2 separate regions of the Homo sapiens genome follow, and region 1 is linked to region 2. The links are contacts of gene promoters, found by promoter capture Hi-C in blood cells and fetal thymus (Javierre and others, 2016). All regions are on one chromosome and are shown on one strand. The core of a region is centred on a gene start or on the middle of the fragment in contact, and the rest is flanking DNA. Distances in the headings are between cores, read along the strand shown.

The links. Contacts are between HindIII fragments. The CHiCAGO score rates a contact against its expected background, and 5 or more counts as called.
Region 1: a fragment that was not itself captured here is called in contact with the fragment with the promoter of H2BC6-AS1 in region 2 in 2 of 17 cell types (erythroblasts and naive B cells); the score reaches 6.6 in erythroblasts.

What each region holds. Positions count from the first base shown.
Region 1 is chr6:27,174,885-27,178,312 of GRCh38, reverse strand. It overlaps TRI-AAT5-2 (tRNA-Ile (anticodon AAT) 5-2), which reads left to right and starts at 1,025; the gene lies at 1,025-1,098. RefSeq lists enhancers at 278-377, 568-767, a silencer at 970-1,119 and a cis regulatory region at 109-1,186. The HindIII fragment of the contact is 1,154 bases long and covers 732-1,885 here.
Region 2 is chr6:26,171,494-26,175,033 of GRCh38, reverse strand. It overlaps H2BC6-AS1 (H2BC6 antisense RNA 1), which reads left to right and starts at 2,261. Exons shown (of 3, transcript NR_186648.1): 1 at 2,261-2,999. RefSeq lists an enhancer at 2,295-3,187. The HindIII fragment of the contact is 22,011 bases long and covers 1-3,540 here.

The DNA of each region.
Region 1 (3,428 bases), core at 59-2,558, 1.0 Mb before region 2:
GCAGTTCCTGTTTCTGTGTCCTTCCCCTATTGGCTGGGGTTGGACCGCACAATCTAAGCTGATCCCGATTGGCTAAGACTTAAACTTTGGCAAATAGGGTAAACCCTGGATTTGCGAAAAAAAGGAGTGTATGTGTGTGGTGGGGGGCGGGGGGCAGGCAGGATTGACGTACAACTTTTGCAACTTATGACAAGAAAGTTGAGTCTTTGAAGAGGGACTTAGTTGTCCCAACACTCTGAGTTGCCTGACCCGGTCCTGGGCTCAGTTCCTCCCAGATACCGGCGTTTATCATTGGTGTAGATAATGGTGACTTCCCTTGTCTTAGATGTGGGTGTCTTGGTCTTCCCGGGACGGAAGGAGTCAGAGACTCTTGAAAGGAGCCGTCCCGCTGGTCCTTTCATTTACGCCGATGCCAGCCCGGCACTCGAGCATCACCAAGGGCCCGGTGCCCGGCACTGCAGGGCCAAGTCTGATTTTATCGTTTGTGGAGCTGCAAGCTTAGGACGCACAGCTGTGAATTTCGGGTCCTGGTGACTGCGGAACCACCGCGAGGCCAGGAGGCGAGACAGTGCACTTTCCCAGGTTCCCAGGCCTAAGAGCCCACCTGGCTGGAATGGTCTCAAGGAGCAGAGAGGAATCCGCACCCTCCGAGTCCTCCGAACCCTCCGATCCTGCGAACCTGCGGCGGCTCTGCGGTTGGTTCCGTGAGGAACTGGCCGCGATCGCAAGCTTGGAGCTGCTTTTTGGTTTGTTCTGAGTCCTTCACCTGGTGAGGGGAAGGAAGCCCTGCTTGGGGTCGTTGAATCTGAGTTTTCTCCAGTCAGAATCAGTGGTTTGAGATTGTTTTCCCTGAAACAGCATGGTTTTCCTGTGCCTACAGTGAGGAATTCTCCTTTTCTTAAAAAAAAATATATTTTATTAATAAAAGGGAAAGTAACGCTTCTATTACAAAAAAAAAAAAATTCAGCGGGCATGGATCAGGTATGATTTAAATAAACATAAGAAAAGACCCTCCCACCAAGGAGGCCGGTTAGCTCAGTTGGTTAGAGCGTGGTGCTAATAACGCCAAGGTCGCGGGTTCGATCCCCGTACGGGCCACTTCCGTGGGTTTGTTTTTTTTTTTTTTCTTCTTTTTCGTTTTTATTTTACACCGACCACACCTCGCTTGTAAACTTCGGTTTTACATCGAACTCCGTAGCCTCGCCTATCCATTTATAAATGTAGTTGCACTAGCTAGACAGGAATTTTTTTCTTTTTTCTTTTTTTTTTTTCTTAAATCGACCACACCTGGATTGTATACTACCGTCTTACATCCAACTCCGGAGCGCTGCCTATCCATTTGTAAATGTGGTCGCAATAGCTAGACAAGCATTAGATTTGCACGTTTTTTATTCTTTTGAAGAAATAATATACGAGTTAGGATGAAAAGGTTTTTCTTATTTGTTTGTTTTGTTTGTTTTTGAGACAGAGTCTTGCTCTGACGCCCAGGCTGGAGTGCAGCGGCGCGATCTTGGCTCGCTGCAACCTCCGCCTCCCAGGTTTAAGCAATTCTTCTGCCTCAGCCTCCCAAGTAGCTGGGATTACAGGCGTGTGCCACGATGCCTGGGTAATTTTTGTATTTTCAGTAGAGACGGAGTTTCACCATGTTGGCCAGGCTAGTCTTGAACTCCTGACCTCAGGTGATCCGCCTGCCTTGGCCTCCCAAAGTGCTGAGATTACAGGCATGAGCCATCGCGCCCGGCCAGGATGAAGATTTTTTAAAGGAAATTCAATGAGGTGGGTGGGTGATTTTAGAAAAGGGTTAAATAAGAATTCGATAATGTCTTGTATTATTTTGGGAAAAAAAAACTTTCTGAGATAATACTATTTTGACATATTTTAAGCTTTTGAAAGAGATCATATTGATTCTTCTCCTAGTTGATCACTCAGTTGGTTAAATTGTTGTGTTTGTAGCTTTGAGGGCGAGGGTTCAGTCTACGTGGGAAAAAGCCAGACTTGTGACGTTGCTTTCTGCCAAGCTCCAGACACTCAGCCACAACTGCTCAGTGTTAAAATAGATCCGTGGTTAGCCTTAGGCTTATATTTGACAGCTGTTCTCGATGTGGCCCATACCAAGCCATTTACGATGCGGCCCTTACCAAGCCATTTACAGTTCATTAAACAATTTTTGAACATATATCGTAAAAGCGATAGGTTTGAAATGTGACAAAAATGGAGTGCGTGGTGGGAGACAGGAGGGCCAGAGCCTCTGGGTCCACTCTAAGTCTTAGCACCTCGCTCTTTCTGTCCTGCGCTTTCTTTTTTTTTTTCTTTTTTTCTTTTTCTTTTTTTTTTTTTTTTTTGAGACGGAGTCTCGCTCTGTCGCCCAGGCTGGAGTGCAGTGGCGCAATCTCGGCTCACTGCAAGCTCCGCCTCCCGGGTTCACGCCATTCTCCTGCCTCAGCCTCCCAAGTAGCTGGGACTACAGGCGCCCGCCACTACGCCCGGCTAATTTTTTGTATTTTTAGTAGAGACGGGGTTTCACCGTTTTAGCCGGGATGGTCTCGATCTCCTGACCTCGTGATCCGCCCGCCTCGGCCTCCCAAAGTGCTGGGATTACAGGCGTGAGCCACCGCGCCCAGCCCTGTCCTGCGCTTTCTTGGAGTCTGGTCACTGGGTCCCCGTGTGCCTGGCACGTGTCTCATTTACATTTCTTCCTTCACTCTTCATCCTCCCAACATATTTTTACCCTTCTCTTATTTTAAAACATGGGTTGCTATGAAAATGACATTAACAATATTGATAAATAATGAGGTAAATAATGGCTCAAAAACAGCGCCAAGGACATAGTGGGCGAATCACAAAGGGAAGGGGCTCCCTCTGTTTTGCTCAGTGCTGTGATTTTTCACGTCAAAAACAGTAAGTAGCTCAAAGTCAGCGACTGAAAAAGATTTCTTTAGAATAAATTAATGAAGAGTACCTACTACTTAGTCCATTGTATATTAGATGATATATACAGATTTAAGTATAAGAAGGATTCCACAGGTAGTTGCTGACTTTGAAAACGAAGGGAGCCACCAGCCAGAGAACTCAGGCATCTGCTAGAAACTGTGAACAACCTGTAAACCGTTATCTCAGTCCTACAGCTGCAGGGAACTGAATGCTACTGACAACCTGAGTGAGTTTGAAAACGAATTCTCCCCTAGAGCCTCCATGAGGAACATGGCCGGGCCTGCTGACGTTTTGGTATTAGTTTGATGACACCCTGCCAGACTTATAACGCACAGAACTGTGTGATAATGAATGGATGTTGTTTTAAGCTATTAAATTTGTGGTAGTTTGTTAAGGAAGTAATAGAAAAACTAACAAAACAAGAAATTGTTAACCCACCCACACTTCCTACTATCTATCCTGGGTTATCTTCCTCTCTTCAGTGCAGTGTAAGATGA
Region 2 (3,540 bases), core at 1,012-3,511:
GGGTAACCTTTCAATATTCTGTATGAGTGTTAGATTCTCATATTACAAGCAAAGAAAAATGCTAATGGTTTTCTAGGATTTGAACAAGACAATAAGCAAATTTGATCTATGATTACCTTCATTTGACACAGAAAACATCCCTTCTTTTTTTCAAAGCACACGTTGGACAATTTCAAAACAAATTAACCCTGGTTTCAGAAAGTTACAGAAATTAAGGAACATAACTACAAAAAGGGAGATATAAAGAATGACAAGAGAATGCTGTGTAACTTTTACAAAAAATTAAACTCAGTGGAAAATAATTTTCAAGAAAAAGAAGAAAATAGACAAGCTGACTAAACAAATTATGATTATGAAAATAAGGTAGGCAGTTAAAAAATATTTTCTACGTCCTTCCACCCAAATGCTGCCAAGTCCGGTCAGATATTCCAAGTTTTAGTGAATTTATGAGGAATAGATTATCTCTTTTTTTTTTTTTTTTTTTCTGAGATGGTTCTCGCTACGTTGCCTAGGCTGTAGCGCAGAAGCTATACACAGGCATGATGGCAGCACACTACAGTCTCCAATTCCTGGGCTCAAGTGGTCCTTCTGCTTCACCTCCTGAGTAGCTGGGACTACAGGGACGTGCCACCTCACTTGGCATGATACCTATTTCACAGAATCTGTTACTATAGAAAAACAGCTCTCCTACTCACTTTTTTCTTGTAAAATTGTATAACATTATTAGCAAAACTGGAGAATACAAATTTTAAAAAGGAAGGAAGAGAGAAAGAAGAAAAAAACAAAATTATAGTTTTGTCTCACTAATGAACATTCATTTTTGTTTTTTAGAAAAAAATGCCTATTATGAGAAAAAATGGAAACCAGGAGAAATTGCAGAGACCATGTTATTTAAATAAATAGCTGATTATATAGGGTTTATTCTAAGAATAGAAGGAAGTTTAGTATTCTAAATCTGCCAGTTTAAGAAATTAATAAAGGAAGGCCCAGAGCAGTGGCTCACGCCTGTATTCCTAGCACTTTAGGAGGCTGAGGCAGGTGGATCACTTAATGTCAGGAGTTCAAGGCCAGCCTGGCCAATGGCGGCCTATCTTCTTCTGATAATACAAAACTTAGCCAGATGTGGTGGCACGCACCTGTAGTCCCTGTTACTTGGGAAAGTGAGGCAGAAGAATCGCTTGAACCTGGGAGGTAGAGGTTGTAATGAGCTTAGATCAGGGCACTGCACTCCAGCCTGGGAGACAGAGTGAGATTCCATCTCAAAATAAAAACTAAAATAATAAAAAATAAAATAAAATAAAATAAAATAAATAAAATAAAAAAGAGATTAATAAAGAAAAAACATGATCATCTCCAAAGATACTGCGAAAGCATTTAACAAAATATAACACTCTTTAATCATAAACACTTAACAGACTACAATGAGAAGAGAACTTCATAAGGAGGAGCTACAGCGAGTATAACACTTAATGGTGCCGTTTTGGAAGGATTCCCATAGAGGCGGAAGGAAGACAAGTGTGGTGAGAAAGTACTCCTATTCAACACGGCATCACAGGGTTTGGCCAATACCATGAGATAGGAACAGGCAGTCAGAAGAGCAAGGATTCAATAGGAAAAGATGATTATCTTTGAAAATAACATAATTGTCAAGGTAAAAGTTCACAAGAATCTATAAACAATTAGATCAAATAAGAATTGGAATTAGTGGGCATAGGCCAGGCGTTGTGGCTCACGCCTGTAATCCCAGCACTTTGGGAGGCCGAGGCGGGCGGATCACGAGGTCAGGAGATCGAGACCATCCTGGCTAACACGGTGAAACCCCGTCTCTACTAAAAAATACAAAAAAACTTAGTCGGGCGTGGTGACTGTAGTCCCAGCTACTCGGGAAGCTGAGGCAGGAGAATGGCGTGAACCCGGGAGGCAGAGCTTGCAGTGAGCCGAGACTGCGCCACTGTACTCCAGCCTGGGGGACAGAGCGAGACTCCGTTTCAAAAAAAAAAAAAAAAAAATTAAAGTCATATGAAGATTAATATGTAACATCTTCTTCGACTTAAATGTTCATTTTTTTCCTTCTGACTTTAGAAGAAATTAAAATATTTTCATGAGCCTCCAAAAGAACTGCGGACCCTAGACACCGTGCCTGCTGTTTAATGGAGTACGGCACTGCGTGTACCGGAAGATGATTTTTTTAAAAAAAAACTCAATTAGGAAATAATTATTCGCACACATTCATATACATACATACATACACTGAATCCTCACACGAAGAGCCCTACAGGCGTGAGAACAGTAAGGGAGATGCAAGAAAGGTCTCCTTGGAGTTGGGAGGCGTATTTACAGCTACTAGAGAAGGGGGAAGTGCCAGCTCCCCGAGAAGAAAGCAGGAGGATGCTGAGAGACTAAAGCTGAAATTTTCTGCCTGCTTCCTCACTCTTTTCGTTGGTTTCAGCCGTCTGAAAAACCCTTGTGAGAGGAGCAAAAAGGTCAAGGGAAGATTGTTGCCTTGCTCTCAGTCTTCAAAATTTTCGATCCTCCGTTTTTTTTGTTTTGAGACGCAGTCTCGCTCTGTCGCCTAGGCTGGAGTGCAGCGGCGCGATCTCGGTCACTGCAACCTCCGCCTCCCTGGTTCTAGCGATTCTTCTGCCTCAGCCTCCTGAGTAGCTGGGACTACAGGCGCGTGCCACCACACCCGGCTAATTTTTTTGTACTTTTGATAGGGACGGGGTCTCACGGTGTTAGCCAGGATGGTCTCTATCTCCTGAACTCGTGATCCGCCCGCCTCGGCCTCCCAAAGTGCTGGGATTACAGGCGTGAGCCACCGCGCCCGGCCGGTCCTCTGTTTTTAAACTGTAAAGGACTCCAGCGGATTGTTCGAAGTCTCCGATATCCCGCGATCTGGTGGCCGCAGAAGAAAGAGGCCGAGTCGGCGGGGACTGGGAACCACCAGTTAGCGGCCTACGGGCAACCTCCCGGACGCGCGCGCCGGGCCGACGTTAAACGTACGTGACGCCCTATGCGGGAGCCGGATGGGCGTAACGGGGCGGCGGCGTAACGTGTGGCTCTGTGGTTAGGGCACGGAGGGGCGTGGCCGGACGGCCCTATGAGGGGGCCGGCGTTTTTGGCGAGGGTTGATGGGATGACCCTATGAGGGAGCCTGCGTGGAGGGGCACGACCGGCCCCAAGACTCCTTTTCATGGCCGCATAGCCGCACCGGGAGTAGGATGACCGCTGTTATTTTTCAGGACCTCTCATCTTCGGTTTGAAATTCTTTGCTTTTTTCCGGCTTTGTGTGGCTATTTAGTATTAGCATTTTAGGGCAGTTTCATTTCCTTTAAAGTAAAACTCTCCAAAGTGGTCTCCGGACCAGCAGCATCAGCATCACCTGCATAATTTAGAAGTACAAATTATCAGGTCCTACCTCAGATCTAATGCATCAGAAAAGTTTTGTGACTGCTTCAAAACATTGTTTCCCTTAATTCAGATGCTGGAGGAGACCTTTCAAATGGCAGCTTAGCATAAGCTAACCAGTTTTTAACTTCA